Linked DNA regions of Homo sapiens: regions 1 and 2 are each linked to region 3. The links are contacts of gene promoters, found by promoter capture Hi-C in blood cells and fetal thymus (Javierre and others, 2016). All regions are on one chromosome and are shown on one strand. Each heading gives the region's core, a stretch centred on a gene start or on the middle of the fragment in contact. The rest is flanking DNA. Distances are from core to core; before and after follow the strand shown. Region 1 overlaps EIF2A (eukaryotic translation initiation factor 2A). Region 2 overlaps SELENOT (selenoprotein T). Region 3 holds the start of ERICH6-AS1 (ERICH6 antisense RNA 1).

Region 1 (2,751 bases), core at 116-2,615, 120 kb after region 3:
TTTTAAGGTGGCACAGTCAGTCTATTAACTTCCTGTCCATATATTAGTTATGTATTAGGCATTATGTATTACCTAATACATAGCTAATCTGTATTAGTCAGGGTTTTCCAGAGAAACAAACACATACACACATCCTGAGAGAGATAAGAGAGAGAGACTCATATAGAAGGAGCTCCAAAATATTTTTTTTTGTGTGTGTGTGAGACGGTTTCACTCTTGTTGCCCAGGCTTGGAGTGCAATGGCACGATGTCGGCTCACTGCAACCTCTGTCTGCCGGGTTCAAACAATTTTCCTACCTCAGCCTCCCAAGTAGCTGGGATTACAGGTATGTGCTACCACGCCTGGATACTTTTGTATTTTTAGTAGAGATGGGGTTTCACCATGTTGATCAGGCTGGTCTTGAACTCCTGACCTCAGGTGATCCACCCACCTTGGCCTCCCAAGGTGCTGGGATTACAGGTGTGAGCCAGCATGCCTGGCCTCCAGAATATTTTAAGGGAGTACAGAACCACTATGGTGAGTATAAGCTGGGCATAGTGATGCAAGCCTGTAGTGTCAGATACTTGGAAGGAGGAGGTGAAGGATCACTTGAGTCCAGGAGTTCAAGGTGCACTCCAACCTGGGAGGCAGAGTGAGACCCTGTCAAACAAACACCACCACCAAAAAGCCCCAAACAGAACAGTTAGTATATGCCATCTTTTTTTTTTAAGTGTATGTGTATGTATATTTGAATACTCATATGGTATCTATCATTAGAAAGATACACAAAAAACTGGAAAATGTGGTAGTGGAACAGACTTAATTTTCATTGCATGCCTTTGTATTTTTTGAATTAGAAAAAAAAAAGTCCTGTGTGTATACTTTTTCTTTAAAAATTTTTAAAAAAGGATTTTGTTACTACATAGGATACTCTTACAAATTAAGAAGAAAGTCAAACATCCAAACAGAAAAATGGGCAAAGGAAAAGAAAAATCAATTCACTAAAGAAATACAACCAACTATCAAACGTGGAAAAGTACATAACCCATCTCTGATAAAAATACATGTATATAACAGTAACAAACAATCATTTCCTCTTTATCAAAGTGGCGAACATTTCAAAGCCTTATCACTTCTGATATTGCCAACAGTGTGGAAAACTTTAAATGGTGCAAGTATAAAGCTTGAGATAGGGCAATTTGGCAGTATCCATGAAAACTAAGCAGGGTGCTTAGTGTTACTAAATGATACATTACTTGAGGATACAGGAGTAGTATATATCATAGTGACCTAAAGCATAGGCTCTGGGATTAGATGGCCATTTCCTAGCTTTGAGACACTGACAAATTTCTTAAATTTATGGCCTTAGTTTTTTCATTTATAAAATAGAGATTAAAAGAATTACTTCATAGAGTCTTGTGAGAATTAAGTAGTTTTACACATCTTATAAATTAATAAAGGATATCTGAACTAAGGAACTTATAATAAAAACAGTGATTAAATTTAAAATGTCTTTGTTCATTTACATGGTATATATCACCCTCTACAAAAAAAAATGACACTTGTCTTTCAATCTGTCAAGCTTAGCTAAAAAATTCACGTATCTCTTTTCTATATCACATATTGACATGATATAGGATGCAAGATATAAATATCAATTTAATAGACATTATTAAATAATTTTACACTTAGTAGAATCTTGGATAAATGGTTAAAATTATAGATTGACATTAAGTGTGGGCACAGGAATATTCTGTGTATACCAATGGGTTTAACAGAAGATGTGTTTGCACTGATTTCTGGTCATCAACTTGCTTTCCGTGAATCTTTAAATACCCAATTCCAAATCTTCCAGCTCCTGGAGAAGGGCTGTTTCTTTCTGAATTTTCTCCAACTAGAAAAGTTTGAAACAATGAAGTTATTATGAAATAATTACTGGATATGTAACCAAAATAATACAGAAAAAATGGTATTTCTGACAATTTATTATGTTCACTAGTAAACACAGATTTTAAAATACAGGTTAGAAACAAATTCTAATTTGTTATCTGGTATGAATCGAGGGTGAAAAGAACAGACACTGTCTTACTGCATCCCTTTGGGCCCCAAAAATTTTCAATTCTATATTCGGGCTTAAACATGTTGACAGGAGGAGGGAAAAGGCAAACAGGGCAGTACAACTTGAGAGAATCTTATATTTGTCTAATATAACAAATTGCTATTATTTTCAGCAGTAATAACATAGTATGCCTCTTAGGAATATTGACTTTTTCATTCACATGATCAATACCATATCTCTTCTATTTAAGAGTAAAGCTATTTAAAAGTAAAAACATTAAAAAGAATATGGCATATGGTTTTCAAAATAAGTTTTTAAACTCCATGTGCTCTTTTACCTGACTAAATACTTGTTTATAATAAAAGGGGGAAGGCTGGTGGTCACCACAAGCCTAAATGAAAAATGCAGAAAGTACCTGATTTTTTTCTAGCTGTTTTCCAGTTGCTGCTTGTTCTTTCAGTTGTTCGATTGCTTTCAGTTTCTGCAAACATCAAATATGAGTCAAGAGCATGGAAGAAAAGTCACTTCAAATGCAAATTTCCTTATTAAGAATGTGAAACTCAAGTAAGGAGATTAATTATCTTAGATTTGTATCAACAATGGTCTGTTAAAATGCTAGGATAAATTGTTTTTTAAAGTTAAATGCAAAATTGTAAATGTTAAAAACATGAGATTTGGCAAAATATTATTCTCAGGCTTTTAATTAATGTTA
Region 2 (2,745 bases), core at 82-2,581, 96 kb after region 3:
AAACAACTATTATGTGCAAGGAGTTCAATTACATGCTGCAGCTATTTTTTTAATGGTAACACTCTACTACTACTAACCTGCTATCTACACCAACTTCTTACTACTCCTTTATTTCATTGATACCAATAAGCATACTTTTCCATATTTAGCATCTCTACTTTTCCTTTTTTTAAAATTAGAGACAAAGTCTCGCTATGTTGCCCAGGCTGGTCTTGAACTCCTGGCCGCAAGCAATCCTCCCACCTCAGCCTCCTGAGTAGCTGGAATTTACAGGTGTAAGCCACTAAACGTGGCTACATGTAGCATCTCTATAAATTAAAAAAACAATAACAAACAAAAAAAGCCACAGGATTTATCTTATAATCATTAGTGTGTCCGTTTAAATGGCAGTATTTTTTTCTTCTAAATGGCATATAAAATCATGGTACATCTTACAATCCATTATGTATTTTAGGTTTGATGTAATAAAGTAACTGTTAATTTAAGTTTCTTAGTTTCAGTTATCATGGCTATTTTGGAGATAAAAATTTCTTTGTGGGGGTTTTCCCCTGGCTACTATGTCCTTAGTCTTCAAAAATCAGGATTCCTTCCCTCCCACCAAAAACATTCATAATACTTGTTTATTTTAATTATCATTCCAGTGAATGGTATAGCATCACCACAGAACTCAGGAATCATCTTTGACATCTCTCACTTCATGCCACCTCTCTTTCCCCACAAACATACAATTCATCATTAAGAGCTGTTAAATTTACCACATAAAGATCTCTCAAATACATCTCTTTCTATTTCTACCACCTCCTTACTTTTCCAAGTTCCATTATCTCTTGCCTGGACAACTCCAAAAGCCGCCCTAAATGGTTTCCCATCAATTCTTTGTCTCCTGGAATGTCTTTTCCACAAGAAAACCAAACGGTCTTTGTTAAGCATGGCCTGCCAGACCCTCAAGCTCTTAACGGCACCTTCTTTTAGGTCTCTGAGGTCAGTAGGCTTAGGCTTCTCTGGTAAAACTGTGGTCTTTCCTACTATAAGTACACTGAACATGTTATTCCCATTGCCTGGAAAGTTCTCGCCAAATAAATCTTATCCTTCGAATCTCAGTTCAAAGTTCATTTCCTCATGGAAACCTTCCCTGATCCCGACTAGGCATCTCTCATACCACCACATAATCTTTCTTCACAGCACTTAACACCAATTGAATTTTATCTGTGTGGTCAGTCCATGGATTAATGTCTGCATCTGCTCTTGCCTGTGAAGTCCACGAGAGCACTGAATTGAATTCTCCGCAGGAAGCAAAGTGCCTGCACAGAGTAAGTGCTCCAATATCTGTTGAATATGCAAATATCAAGTCTACAGTAACCAACATGATCTCTGTAACTCACAATTTCTCCAATTCAGCATTTTACTACTAATCTTGATGAGTATCAACATCCAAATCAACCTTAGGTCTTTATTTTCTTGCTGTCACACTATGAAAGCCAAGGCTGAATAGTTGTAAATTTAAATAAAAATCTGTTTTGGTACAGTTGTTTCATTTACCTCTTAAAACTACATTTAGAAGTTGGCTGTCCTAAAATTACAGCAGTAGATTCTCAAACTAACAAAACTTTGAAAATCCCGCCATATTCTACTTATGTTTTGAAATCTCAATTTCATTTAATCTACTATTCTCAGCAATTCAGTTGTCAAATGTTCAAGTAAATATTAACTGTAAAGGGTTGTAGCCAATAATCTCTTTAAACTGCAACTAATTAAATGCTGTAGATCTGATTACATGTTAAATCGCATATACGGAGAAAGTATGTATGACAAACATCATGCCTAAGAGTAACTATCAATACAAATTTATAAAAATCAATAAAAGGAAAACACAAAAAGGGAATTTCAGCCGGGGGCAGTGGCTCAAACCTGTAATCCTAGCACTTTGGGACGCCAAGGTGGGTAGGTCACTTTGAGGTCAGGAGTTCAAAATCAGCCTGGCCAACATGGTGAAACCCCGTCTCTACTAAAAATACAAAAATTAGCCAGGCGTGGTGGTGCACACCTGCAGTCCCAGCTACTCAGGAGGCTGAGGCATGAGAATCTCTTGAGCCCAGGAGGCAGAGGTTGCAGTGAGCTGAGATCACACCACTGCACTCTAGCTTGGGCAACAAAGCAACACTGTCTCAAAAACAATGGAATTTTAAGCTCTGATTAGAGAACTTCCTTTTTCTATGTTAAGTGTTAAACGTCCAAATAAGCAGAATAAATTTTTTTCCAAGTATGAAGCCAATATAATCAAAAGTATCTAATTATATTGCTCAATCAACATAATAAACCACAGACTCAGATACACAAGTAATACTGTGCCAGTCTGGTAGACTTCTTGAGATGGTCACATCTTTAGCATGCTTAATTCCTGGCATACAGCAGGTATTACACACAGCCTGGGCAACAAGGCAAGACCAGGTCTCTACAAAAAATATGAAAATTAGCCAGGCGTGGTGGTGCGCGTCTGCAGTCCCAGCTACTTGGGAGGCTGTGGTGGGAGGATTATCGGAACTCAGGAAGTCAAGGCTCCGTGATCATGCCATTGCACTCCAAACTGGGTGACACAGCGGGACTCTGTCTCAGCAAAAAAAAAAAAAAAGGAAGAAAGAAAGGAAAAAAAAAAACGAGAATAGGAAACTCTGTCGTAAGCTACTCTACAAGCTTGATCTCTCAGCACTATGTTGCTATTGTGTTGACTAACAATTGCAAAAGTGG
Region 3 (3,087 bases), core at 264-2,763:
ATCGAGACCATCCTGGCTAACACGGTGAAACCCCATCTCTACTGAAAATGCAAAAAATTAGCCAGGCGTGGTGGCACGTGCCTGTAGTCCCAGCTACTCGGGAGGCTGAGGCAGGAGAATTGCTTGAACCCAGGAGGCTGAGGTTGCAGGGAGCCGATATGGTGCCACTGCACTCCAGCCTGGGTGACAGAGCGAGACTCCGTCTCAAAATAAATATAATATAATATAATATAATATAATATAATATAATATAATATAATATAATATATAAAATTGGCCAGGCGTGGTGACACACATTTGTTGTCCTTGCCACTTGGGAGACCGAGGTGGGAGGATCACTGGAGCCCAAGAGTTCAGGGCTGAAGTGAACCATGATGCCGCCACTGCACTCCAGCCTGGGTGACAGAGTGACATCCTGTCTCTCAAAAATAAAAAATGTATATATTTTACAAAAATGTAAGTAAATACAAAGTCCCAGAAGGACGCAGGTGGTACCTAGGTGGCCAGATGCTTCAGGACTTTTCTACTCCAGGATGGATAGATGGGCCAAGTAAGAAGCAGGACCCAGATCACAGCAAGGAGCAAAATTTATGGGACGCTAAAAATGTCGCCAATCAAGATTAATTAATATTAATCTAACAATATTTAAGATAACTAACATTTAAGGCAATTTTAATACGCTTATTAATATTTAAAGCTATTTTAAAAATATCCGCAAACGAGGGCCCAAGGGCTGGCGCCTGATTTTGTAAATAAAGTTTCACTGGACGTTCCAGCAAGCATCTGTCTACTCAATAACCAGACTCCAGCATCCGCAATACCAAATGGCACCGTGTGTGTCCGTCGCTAGAAGCCACTTCCTCCACCCAAGTTAAAAAAAAAAAAAAAGGCCCCAAATAAGCTGAGAGACGAAGAAAAGATCGTTTCTCCGCAGGCTGCCAGGGGTTTCAGAGACGCTGAAGAGCAGGGACAGAAAGAAGTCTGCGGTGGCCCCCACCGGCCCTCGGCACCCACATTCTATCCGGCTAACCAGCTCCTGCCGCTTTAAATCCGGGAGGCTCGGTGGCGCAGGGCAAGCAGTTGCCCGGGGAGACCAACGCACAACAGAGGCTCGCGCTCGCGAGAGCCGACCGGGGCCGCGGCCAAAGAGCTGGCTGTAATCCCGCCTCCCGCCAGCCATGGCCCACTTGCGCTCGCCTAGCGGCTTCGGAGACCCGGGGAAGAAGGACCAGAAGGAGTCAGAGGAGGAGTTAGAGGAGGAGGAGGAGGAGGAAGAGGTGGAGGAGGAGGAGGAAGAGGTGGAGGAGGAGGAGGAAGAGGTGGAGGAGGAGGAGGAGGAGGTGGTGGAGGAGGAGTTGGTGGGGGAAGAGCAGGAGTTGGAGGCCCCTGAGACGTTCAGCGAAGAGTACCTCTGGAAGGTCACGGACATCGGTGACTACGACGACGACTTCCCAGACGTGCGCCCCCGCTTAGCCAGCATCGTCAGCCCTAGCCTGACCTCTACGTTCGTGCCCAGCCAGAGCGCGACCAGCACTGAAACGCCGAGCGCAAGCCCACCCTCCAGCACCTCCTCGCATAAAAGTACCGCCCCCGACCCACCCCTTCCTCGAGGGTTTCTCGTCTCCAGGGGGCACCTGGTCCACCCACTCCTGGGTGGTGCCTTCGTCGACCTGCGCGTCGTGCCTGATTTCTAAATGCATGCACCATTCCACACACCTAATCTCTCTCACGCCCTTGTCAGAGACACTGAACCCTTGGCTGAGCTGTTGTGATGAGGCACGATTTAGGATATAGGCGAAACACCATAAAAGTTGAACTTGGGCATGGCTGTATGAAGTGCTTTTTTTTTTTTAGACAAGAGTCTCGCTCTGTCGCCCAGGCTGGAGTGCAGTGGCTGCAGCCTCGACCTCCTGGGCTCAAGCCTCCCACCGCAGCCTCTCGAGTAACTGGAACTACAGGCACACGCCACCACACCCAGCTAATCTGGCGTCTCACTATGTTGCCCAGGCTGCTGGGAGTGCTCATTTTTATAACATTTTTGCGTGCATTCACACCGTGACATCTCTCTCTCTCTCTCTCTCTGTTCCCCCTCCCCTCCCTCTTCCTCCCCTCCCTCTCCCCTCCCCCTCTCTTTCTCTCTCCCTCTCTCTCTCTCTCACAGACACACACACACACACACACACACACTCATATTATTTCCAGAGAAGTGCCTTAAGGGTGCTGTACTACTGAAACAGTCCTGCAAAAAAAAAAAACAACTCTCTTTTGTGTTTAACATCCTGTGCTGAAGCCACTCCAGTCACTTCCTTGAAAAAAGAAGCAGAGAAGTCTTCTAGAGTAGGCTTCTCAAGCTCTAGTGTTGACATTTTGGTCTGGATAATTCTTTGTTGGGGAGGATTGGGGACTGTCCTGTGAATTACAGGATATTTGGCAGCATCCCTGTCCTCTACCCGTGGCTGTGCTAGAAGCACACATCCTTGCGATGATCAAAAATGTCTCCAGGCCGGGCGCGGTGGCTCACGCCTGTGATCCCAGCACTTTGGGAGGCCTAGGCGGGCAGATCACGAGGTCGGGAGATCGAGACCATTCTGGCTAACATGGTGAAACCCCGTCTCTACTAAAAATACAAAAAATTAGCCGGGCGTGGCGGCGTGCGCCTGTAGTCCCAGCTACTTGGGAGGCTGAGGCAGGAGAATAGCGTGAACCCGGGAGGTGGAGCTTGCAGTGAGCCAAGATCGCGCCATTGCACTCCAGCCTAGGCGACAGAGCGAGACTCCGTCTCAAAAAAAAAAAAAAAAAAAAAAAAGTCTCCAGACATTGCCATGTGTTCCTGGGGGGGGTAGAATTGACCTTTTGATTTAGAGGGAATAGCTGATTTTTAAATGTTTCATTCAACAGGTTTCCCTAAAATATTTCAGACATTTAGGAAAGACATGTCTGAAATGAGTATAGATAGGTAAGAAAATGTTTTCAAATTTCACATTTTTTGAACCCAATAATGTTTACCTTTTGGATAAACATGTTAGGAAGTAGAGTAAAATAATCCAGGGCATTTGTGACTTACTTATTTTAAAAAGTTTTTTTTAA

What was found. Contacts are between HindIII fragments. The CHiCAGO score rates a contact against its expected background, and 5 or more counts as called.
Region 1: a fragment that was not itself captured here is called in contact with the fragment with the promoter of ERICH6-AS1 in region 3 in 1 of 17 cell types (megakaryocytes); the score reaches 5.1 in megakaryocytes.
Region 2: a fragment that was not itself captured here is called in contact with the fragment with the promoter of ERICH6-AS1 in region 3 in 2 of 17 cell types (megakaryocytes and total B cells); the score reaches 5.6 in megakaryocytes.

Annotation. Positions count from the first base shown.
Region 1 is chr3:150,582,969-150,585,719 of GRCh38, reverse strand. It overlaps EIF2A (eukaryotic translation initiation factor 2A), which reads right to left. Exons shown (of 14, transcript NM_032025.5): 13 at 2,455-2,520; 14 at 1-1,874. The coding sequence ends at 1,809. All of the region lies in intron 1 of LOC124900547 (a long non-coding RNA gene), which reads left to right. Among named protein-coding and RNA genes, the nearest start is that of SELENOT, 19 kb to the left of the region's middle. The HindIII fragment of the contact is 399 bases long and covers 1,166-1,564 here.
Region 2 is chr3:150,606,035-150,608,779 of GRCh38, reverse strand. The region is part of intron 1 of SELENOT (selenoprotein T); the gene reads right to left. Among named protein-coding and RNA genes, the nearest start is that of SELENOT, 4.1 kb to the right of the region's middle. The HindIII fragment of the contact is 2,725 bases long and covers 1-2,693 here.
Region 3 is chr3:150,701,990-150,705,076 of GRCh38, reverse strand. It overlaps ERICH6-AS1 (ERICH6 antisense RNA 1), which reads right to left and starts at 1,513. Exons shown (of 3, transcript NR_121675.1): 1 at 1,410-1,513. ERICH6 (glutamate rich 6) reads left to right here and starts at 1,157. Exons shown (of 14, transcript NM_152394.5): 1 at 1,157-1,581; 2 at 2,899-2,956. The coding sequence starts at 1,179. RefSeq lists enhancers at 962-1,051, 1,202-1,281. The HindIII fragment of the contact is 4,487 bases long and covers 1-3,087 here.